Linked DNA regions of Homo sapiens: region 2 is linked to region 1. The links are contacts of gene promoters, found by promoter capture Hi-C in blood cells and fetal thymus (Javierre and others, 2016). All regions are on one chromosome and are shown on one strand. The core of a region is centred on a gene start or on the middle of the fragment in contact, and the rest is flanking DNA. Distances in the headings are between cores, read along the strand shown. Region 1 holds the start of SS18 (SS18 subunit of BAF chromatin remodeling complex). Region 2 has its middle 7.3 kb from the start of RIOK3.

Region 1 (4,209 bases), core at 1,030-3,529:
CATGAAAACTTCAGCCCAGGAGTCTTGATGAGGTAGCTGGTTAGTTTCCAAGTTTTATAACAGCATGGTTTTGTGACTCTCCAATTATGAGATAATAATTAAACATAATAATTTCTATGCATGTATATTTGTTACAGACTTTATGAGTTTACTTCATAATTATGCTGTCTCAAAAGTTTAAGAGGAAAAACATACCGATTTATCATTCTATCATCTTTTAACATTCCAAGCAATCTTGGCTTTGAGGGTTAAATAATTCATCTAAGTAAAGTGGAGCTGAAGAAAGAGTACTGATTGTAGCAATTAAAAGGCCAGTTAGTTTCAGTGCCAGTTTTGCCATTTTGAGCAAGTCACTTAAGTTTTCAGGGGCTGATTCAGCTGTAAGATCAAGGGACTCAGGATATGCTCCTCCAGAACCTGCCCCACCCTACCAGTATTCAAAAGTATTAGCACAATACCATAATCACGCAATCTAAATAAAAGGAACATCCATTTAACATTAACTGTCACTTTTTTATGCACGTGAATCATAATCTTCACTTACTGGGGGAAAAAAAAAACCACTAACATGATCTGCTAATAAATGCAGTTATTTCTTAAATAGAACCATTGGATGACCAAAAAAAGTCCTTAAAAAGCACGAATCCAGTCCTCAACCTAATGATTTCACAACTTATTATCTCCAGTATATTCCTCAAACTATTGAACTTCACCATTAAAATATCTGTCTCACATCTAATATCAATCTCTCCCATTGTAGAATAAGGCAATTAATTTAGAGCCCATTTTTCTGTTCAGCTGAGAATGGAAAATAATTGATCAGCATCCTCCGAATTAATCATTATCCATGATAAATATCTTCAGACTTATGTAACAGAAACTATAAAAAAAAAAGAAAAACTCTGGACTTTTCCTGTGTACAAAAATAAAAAAGGTGAGCCCTCCAGAAACGCAGTTTTGCGTGAGTGCGTACTTGGAGCTGTTTGCCAGGCTGCAGACTTAACTCAGAGCACTATATGAAAGCACTGCATTTCCAGGCACTGCCAAGCCCGTTTGTTCATAAAATAAAGCAACAGTTGGGCAAATGTCAAAAGCCACACTACGAAGAACCTGACAGTAAACAGAAACCGATTAGCATAATCTACGTGGTCTGAGTGGTACTAAAACTTGACCTTTTTTTCTATTTTGATCTTTGCTACACAGCATAAAACAAAACAAAAATATTTAAAGTAAACTGCTAAATACAGCAGCAACTTCTGAAAGTCTAGGTCAGTAAAATTTAGAATGCTGCCTTGCTTGCAGGCAACAAGGGGTAGAGGACAATAAAGAACCTTTGTGTTCCGACTGGCAGTAACACAGCAGCGACTGCAGCAGCTCTATCCTTTAAAAAGGAGGCAGCTCCCTGTGTATTTATCACGACTTACATTAACTGGTCACGACAGTCTCCACCATTAGACTGTAAGCTCCAGGAAGGCAAGGACCATGACTCACCACAGTAGCCTCAGCGCCTAAAATAGGCGCTCAATAAATATTTGCTGCAGAATAAATGAATAGGCGGCGATGCAGAAGGGAAGAAGAGGCTCTGGGGACAACCCCAGAGTCCATGGGGACCTTCCTTGCCCGCTCCTCAAACTCTATACTAAGGTTCCCTCCAGCGTTCCCCAAGTCCTCCTGCGAGCTCCCAAACTCGGCTGAGTTTGCAGGGCGGCGACCAGCGCACCGACTTCCCCTCTGCCTGCCGCGACCCGCGGTGGGGTCCGCACGAAGCAGCCGCGGCACGCGGGGCGGGGCGACGCCAAAGTAACTCCGGAGCAACGCGCGGGGCCGCCGGTCCGACACACGCCCTTCCCTGAGCGGCCGCCGCCGGGCGCACGCGCCCCGCAGCCCGAACGCCGCCCCATCCCTAGAGAAATCAGGCGGCGGCTGTTTGGGCTTTTGTGTCTGTAGAAAAACGCGTAAATGCGTGAAAGACTCCGAGAAAAACCGGTTCACCCTCTTCCGCCACCCACTCAGGCACAGCCAGCAGTCCGTGTTCCCAAACACTGCTGATTCCCAGCAGGCCCGCCTCCGCCTCGGCCCGGTCGACTCCGGGCCCGGCCCTTCCCCCCGCGTCTGTCTCTCCCAGAGGCGGTAAGGGCCTGGCATCCGCAACCCCGCGCGGTTTCACCTTCTGAATCGCAGCGGGAGTGATCTCCCCCTTGCCTCGCTGCCTCGGGGCCGCGAAAGCCACAGACATGTTGCCGCCGTCACCACTATCGGCAAGTCCCGAGCGCTCCGGGTGAACGGCAAACTGGGGGAGAGACGCCGGCCTCTCGGGCTGAACCACCTCGGGAATGCGGGGAGGGGGGATGCTCCGGGGCCAAGCGGACGGGCGGCGGGGCAGGCCTGAAGGAGGCACTCTGGCCAGGGATGTCTCGCTTCTGCGCACTCTGGGGGACCCCTAGCCCTGGCCGAACTTTCTTGACCGTCCCTGCATCCCCCGAGCTCTCCTTATGGGCACCCCCTGGCCCTTTGCGCTAATGGTAGAGTCGCGCCCTAGTCCTCCCTCCGCTTCAGCGATTCAGGAAATGGTCCCGCCGCCGCGGGAGAAGGAGAGGCTGGGGCAGCCCCTGTCACAGGAAATGCGAGCGGCCCAAGCCGGCCCGCCCCCTTCGCGCCGTGGCAACTTGCCTCCCTCTCCGGCCCTCTGAAGCGTCTCCCCGACTGTGTTGCAGAGCGTGCCCTAGACCTAGTTCAGTTTTTCCAACTTCATCCTTACTTACGCCTCCTGGCAAGAGTGGCCGCCCCGAGTTGTCCCGGCAGCCCGGAGAGGGGAGGGAGGTCAAGACTCGGGAGTTCGTGCAAATCCGTGGAGCATCTGCCGAGATAGGGCAGAGGTGGAAGGACAAGGTGAACGCGGATTCGCTGGTTTAAATGGCTCGGCTACGCCCCAAATGCGCACCTCCGAGTCCACAGTCTCGCACGCACGCACAAAGTCGTGCCTAACAATTGGAAAGTAACCCTGACCCGAAACCGGGACACCAAGGTTGTGTCCAGTGCTCAGGGGCAATCGGCCAGCTTGGCTGGAGCGGACAGAGAAGAGCTCGCCTCTTGGGACAAACCCTTAGCAGGAAAGTGGGTCGATTTCGTCTGACTTGGCTTTTTGGAATTAAGTTGTGAAACAGGGCATCCTCACTCTCTGTTTTTTAAGAGAGTACTTACTTAGTGCCTTGTAAATTAGGCCCAAGCTGCCAGGCTTCAAGTCAGTGTAAGGGAAAAAGGCAAAGTTTTCAAATTATGGAAGGAACACGGACAAATGTGGGTTTTGTGTTGCCGTGGGGTTTTAAAGTATTCTGTAAATTTAGACTTCCATATAACACAAAGGGAAAGTTTATATAAAGTGTTACCCAACGTTAATGAATAATAAAAAATATTTCCATTTTTATATAAATTGGAAAAATAAAGAAAAAATACATTATTTTAAAAATTTAATCACTTGAGGCCAGGAGTTTGAGACCAGCCTGGGCAACAAAGTGAGACCTCTGTCTCTACAAGAATTTTAAAAATTGGCTGGGTATGGTGGTGTGCACCTGTAGTTCCAGCTACTAAGGAGGCTGAGGTGGAAGAATCACTTGAGCCAAGGGGGTGGAGACTGCAGTAAGCCATGACTGCCCCACCACACTCCACCCTGGGTGACACAGCAAGACCCTGTCTCAAAAAAAAAAAAAGAAAAATTAAGTATCAAATAAATGCTCTTCACAAAAATGTCAAGAATGTCATTGATTAAATGCATTGTTTGTTAGGCTTTATACTGGAAACCTAGGGTACGATTGTGAATAAGCTGGACATGGAACCTCCTCTCAAGGAGCTTATACACTAATGGGACTAACAGACCAGAAACAAACAAATATGTATATATGCAAAGTCCCAAGAAAAACTAGCCAAAAAAAAGGGGGAGGAACTAACAGAATGACAGGAACACTTACATGAGTTAGTGTGAAAAGTCTTCCCGATTATATTTAAACTGGGACCTAAAGGATGAAGACTCAAGCTGTCATAAGAATAAAGGGAAGAAAGTTTATGCTGCTACTGACAGTAATTACTCTTAAAAATTTAATTGTTATCTTTCACTATTGTAAGCCTTGAAGAAAACACTCTGGTATAGCTGGACTTAAGGTAATCACACCAAATTGGAAAACTGTCAAATTTGGAAACCAATACTTGTCTACC
Region 2 (4,209 bases), core at 792-3,291, 2.6 Mb before region 1:
CGTGTTAGCCAGGATGGTCTCGATCTCCTAACCTGGAGATCCGCCCGCCTCGGCCTCCCAAAGTGCTGGAATTACAGGCGTGAGCCACCGCGCCCCGCCCATTATTTTTTTTGATAATATATTCATAAATGCTCAATAAATGTTTATTGAATGAAAAAAGAGGGAAGCTTGGATAAAACAATGGCTTGTGGGATTTTTCCCCCACAAATCTTTTTTTAATAATAAATTTTTATGATAGCACACATGCAGAATTCTCAAAAGATGACAGAAGCAGTAGCACACATTTTGAAACTCCTTAAATCACCCTTAAAAAACAGAGAGAATATAAATATCTCCTATGAATATAGATGCAAAAATCTTCAACCAAACACTAGCAGAAGGAATTCAGCAACATGAAAAAGAATATACAGCTTGACCAAATGGGACTTATCCCAGGAATGCAACGTTGGTTTAACCTACAAAACCAGTTCATATAATACACAATATCTAATAAAGGATAATTTATTATATTGATATAATAAAGGATACCTAGACATAGATAAGACATTTGACAAGATTCAACACCCCTTCGCAATAAAAACATTCAGAAGCTATGGCCGGGCGTGGTGGCTCACGCGTGTAATCCCAGCACTTTGGGAGGCCGAGGCAGGTGGATCACGAGGTCAGGAGATGGAGACCATCCTGGCTAACACAGTGAAACCCCGTCTCTACTAAAAATACAAAAAAAAAAAAAATTAGCAGGGCGTGGTGGCGGGCGCCTGTAGTTACAGCTACTCGGGAGGCTGAGGCAGGAGAATGGTGTGAACCCAGGAGGCGGAGCTTGCAGTGAGCCGAGATCGCGCCACTGCACTCCAGCCTGGGCGACAGAGCTAGACTCCACCTCGAACAAACGAACAAACAAACAAAACATTCAGAAGCTAGAAATAGGAGGGAACTTCCTCAATATCATAAAAGGTTTCTATAAAAACCCACACCCTAACATCATAGCTAATGATGAAAGAGTGCTTTCCTCACTAAGATCAGAAGCCAGACTAGAATAACCAACTTGTCACTTCTATTCAACACTGTGTTGGAGGCTCTAGCCAGGACAACAAGGCAAGGAAAAATAAATAAATAAAAGGCATCCAGATTTCAAAAGAAGAAATAAAACTATCTCTAATACAGAAGACAAAATTTCACATATAGAAAACCATAAAGAATACACTAAAAAACTGTTAGAACTAGTAGATGAATCCAGCAAGTTGCAGAATGCAAGATCAATATACAAAAATCAATTATATTTCTATACACTTGCAATGCACGATCTGAAAATAAAACTAAGGAATAAGTTTTATTTAAAATACCATAAAAAGCATAATACTTATGAAAAATTGGCAAAATAAATGAAAAATTTATTATCTGAAAACTACAAAATATTTTTGAAGGGCATTAAAGAAGACCAATTGAATTAATTAATAAATAAATAAAATTAAGCAGAAAAATATCCCATGCTTATGGATTGGAAAACTGGATATTATTAAGATGGCAATAATCCCCAAGTTGATTCTACAGATTCAATACAGTCCCAATCAGAATTCTACCTGGTTTATTTTTCTCTGCAGAAATTAACTAACTGATCCTAAAATTCATATGGAAATTAAAGAGACCCTTTATAGCTAAAAATCTTAAAAGAGAAGAACAAAGTTAAAGGATTCATAGTTCTTAATTTCAGAGATTATTACAAAGCTACACTCAAGACAGTATGGTACTGGCATAAGGATACACATACAGACCAATGGAATAGAACTGAAACCCCTCACGTTTATGGCCAGTTGATTTTTGACAAGACAATCCGATGAACAAAGAACAGCACTTTTTAACAAATGATGCTAGAAGCCAGGCACAGTGCTTCACACCTGTAATCCCAGGACTTTGGGAGGCCAAGGCAGGAGGATCACTTGAGCCTAGGAGTTTGAGACCAGCCTTGGCAACATGGTGAAATCCCGTTTCTACAAAATATAAAAATTAAAAAAGTAGCCAGGTGTGGTGGCGCACACCTCCCAGTTACTCAGGAGGCTGAAGCAAGAGAATTGCTTGAGCCTAGGAGGTCAAGGCTGTTGTGAGCCATGATTGTACCACTGCACTCCAACCTGGGTGACACAGCAAGACTCTGTCTCAAAATAAATAAATAAAAATAATTTTCCTTTTGTTTATCCCTTATAGTCGATCATTATATATCAATTTTAAAAGATACTATGCAGTAAAGGGAGCAAAACAAAATCTTTGTTGTTAAAAATGGCAATGGGTTAGATAGGCTTAAGAACTGCTGAGTCCCAGCTGACCCTAACTGAACCATATCTGTAACATTTCATCTAATAATCTTATGAAACTACTCAGCAGTCACTAAATATACTATGGGCTTTCCTGCCCCTATGCCTAGTCTTAGGCTGTTCTTCCACCCAAACTAGCGTTACAGCTTCTCCCCAGCGTTCATGACCTACTTTGGTGCCACGCAGCCTTTCCAGATCTCACTACCCCACAATGAATCCTGAAATGTTTGTGTCTATAGCTGTCATTTGGAAATAAATCATGCACTCTTTGAGATAGAGGTGTTGTATTGTTATTTAATGTTATTGTGTGACTATTGTTATCTCTCCAAGTGCAATCTCACAGTTCTTTGTTTTTCCCAAAGGACTGGGGGCATCCTAGGTAGTTAATAGATAGTTGTTCATTGCCTGAAACAGCTATTTGCAGAATAGACTTATTTCAATATTAAAAACTAAAGAGCCTTATTTCTGTTCTCTTTAGAGACCAAAGAATCTGCTGATTCATGTGTTTAGACAGGGCAGATTCTCAAATAGTTTTGTTCCTGCTGAGAACCAGTGAGTTTGGCTGGGTGCGGTGGGTTACGCCTGTCATCCAAGTACTTTGGGAGGTCGAGGCAGGCAGATCACGAGGTCAGGAGATCGAGACCATCCTGGCTAACACGGTGAAACCCCATCTCTACTAAAAAAAAAAATACAAAAAAATTAGCTGGGTGTGGTGGCGGGTGCCTGTAGTCCCAGCTACTCGGGAGGCTGAGGCAGGAGAATGGCGTGAACCTGGGAGGTGGAGCTTGCAGTGAGCCGAGATTGCGCCACAGCACTCCTGCCTGGGCGACAGAGCGAGACTCCGTCTCAAAAAAAAAAAAAAAAAAAAAAAAGACAGAGAACCAGCAGTGAGTTCATCAGCAGAGAAGACAGGGAGTAGGAGCTGGAGCCAAAGCCTCTAAACATTGCTTACTCTGCCTGACAGCAAAATGGCCGTTTCCCCATTCAAGGACTCACTATTAAATCACATAGGACTAAATGCTGTTATTGGTAAACCACATTTTTCCTATTAGCAACATTTGTAAATGTAGAATTTGCAAATATTGTGCATGTCCTTCTATCTTCCTTTTTAAGGAGTACATAGTTGGTGGCATCAGGTATGTATCTTAACTGTCAACAAGCAACCATTAAAATTGTTAAACCACAAAACCCATGGGAACTCATAAACCATTAAACCCATAACAAGGGATTAATCAACTTCCCTTGTCCTTACAGCCTGCCATCCCTACTTTCTTGCCTCATTTAAAACCTTAGGGTCTTCTGGAACTATTCATTTCCCTCCAGGGCAGGGCAGCATTCTTCACTCTCCCCAGCACAGCTCCCAAAATGTTATTCCTGGCCCCTCAGGTTGTCAGGTCTCTCCAGTCTCTAACCATTCCATTATCATGACCTCTAAATTTCCTTAGCATCATCTACCAATCTCTTGGGTACAATCTGCACATTGTCTAAGACTGTGGCACCGGTACATTCTCTTCCAATCTACCTCAAGTCCTGCCATCTTGCTGGGTGGTTTTAGGGTCCACGCATATCACCCATCCAATACACTGACATTTTTATCCTGATCCGTTAAGCTTCCCAACCTCAACCTCACCACCTCTTCATTATGGCTTCCTCTGACCTCAGAATTGCCTGCATCTTCTCTACCTCTAAAATCCTTCAGTAGCCCACTATCTTTGTTACTTTTTTTAAAAATTGAGGTGAAATTCACATAACATAAAATTAACATTTTAAAGTGTAAAATTCAGCATTTAGCAGATTCACAATGGTGTGCTGCCACCACCTATATCACCCCTAAAGAAAACCCCATTAAGCTTACCCTTGAAGCAGTCACTCCCCATTATCCCCTCCCCACTCATTCCCT

What was found. Contacts are between HindIII fragments. The CHiCAGO score rates a contact against its expected background, and 5 or more counts as called.
Region 2: a fragment that was not itself captured here is called in contact with the fragment with the promoter of SS18 in region 1 in 1 of 17 cell types (non-activated CD4 T cells); the score reaches 6.6 in non-activated CD4 T cells.

What each region holds. Positions count from the first base shown.
Region 1 is chr18:26,088,334-26,092,542 of GRCh38, forward strand. SS18 (SS18 subunit of BAF chromatin remodeling complex) reads right to left here and starts at 2,280. Exons shown (of 11, transcript NM_001007559.3): 1 at 2,168-2,280. The coding sequence starts at 2,236. RefSeq lists an enhancer at 2,615-2,734. The HindIII fragment of the contact is 4,894 bases long and covers 1-4,209 here.
Region 2 is chr18:23,443,868-23,448,076 of GRCh38, forward strand. No RefSeq gene overlaps it. Among named protein-coding and RNA genes, the nearest start is that of RIOK3, 7.3 kb to the right of the region's middle. The HindIII fragment of the contact is 3,752 bases long and covers 166-3,917 here.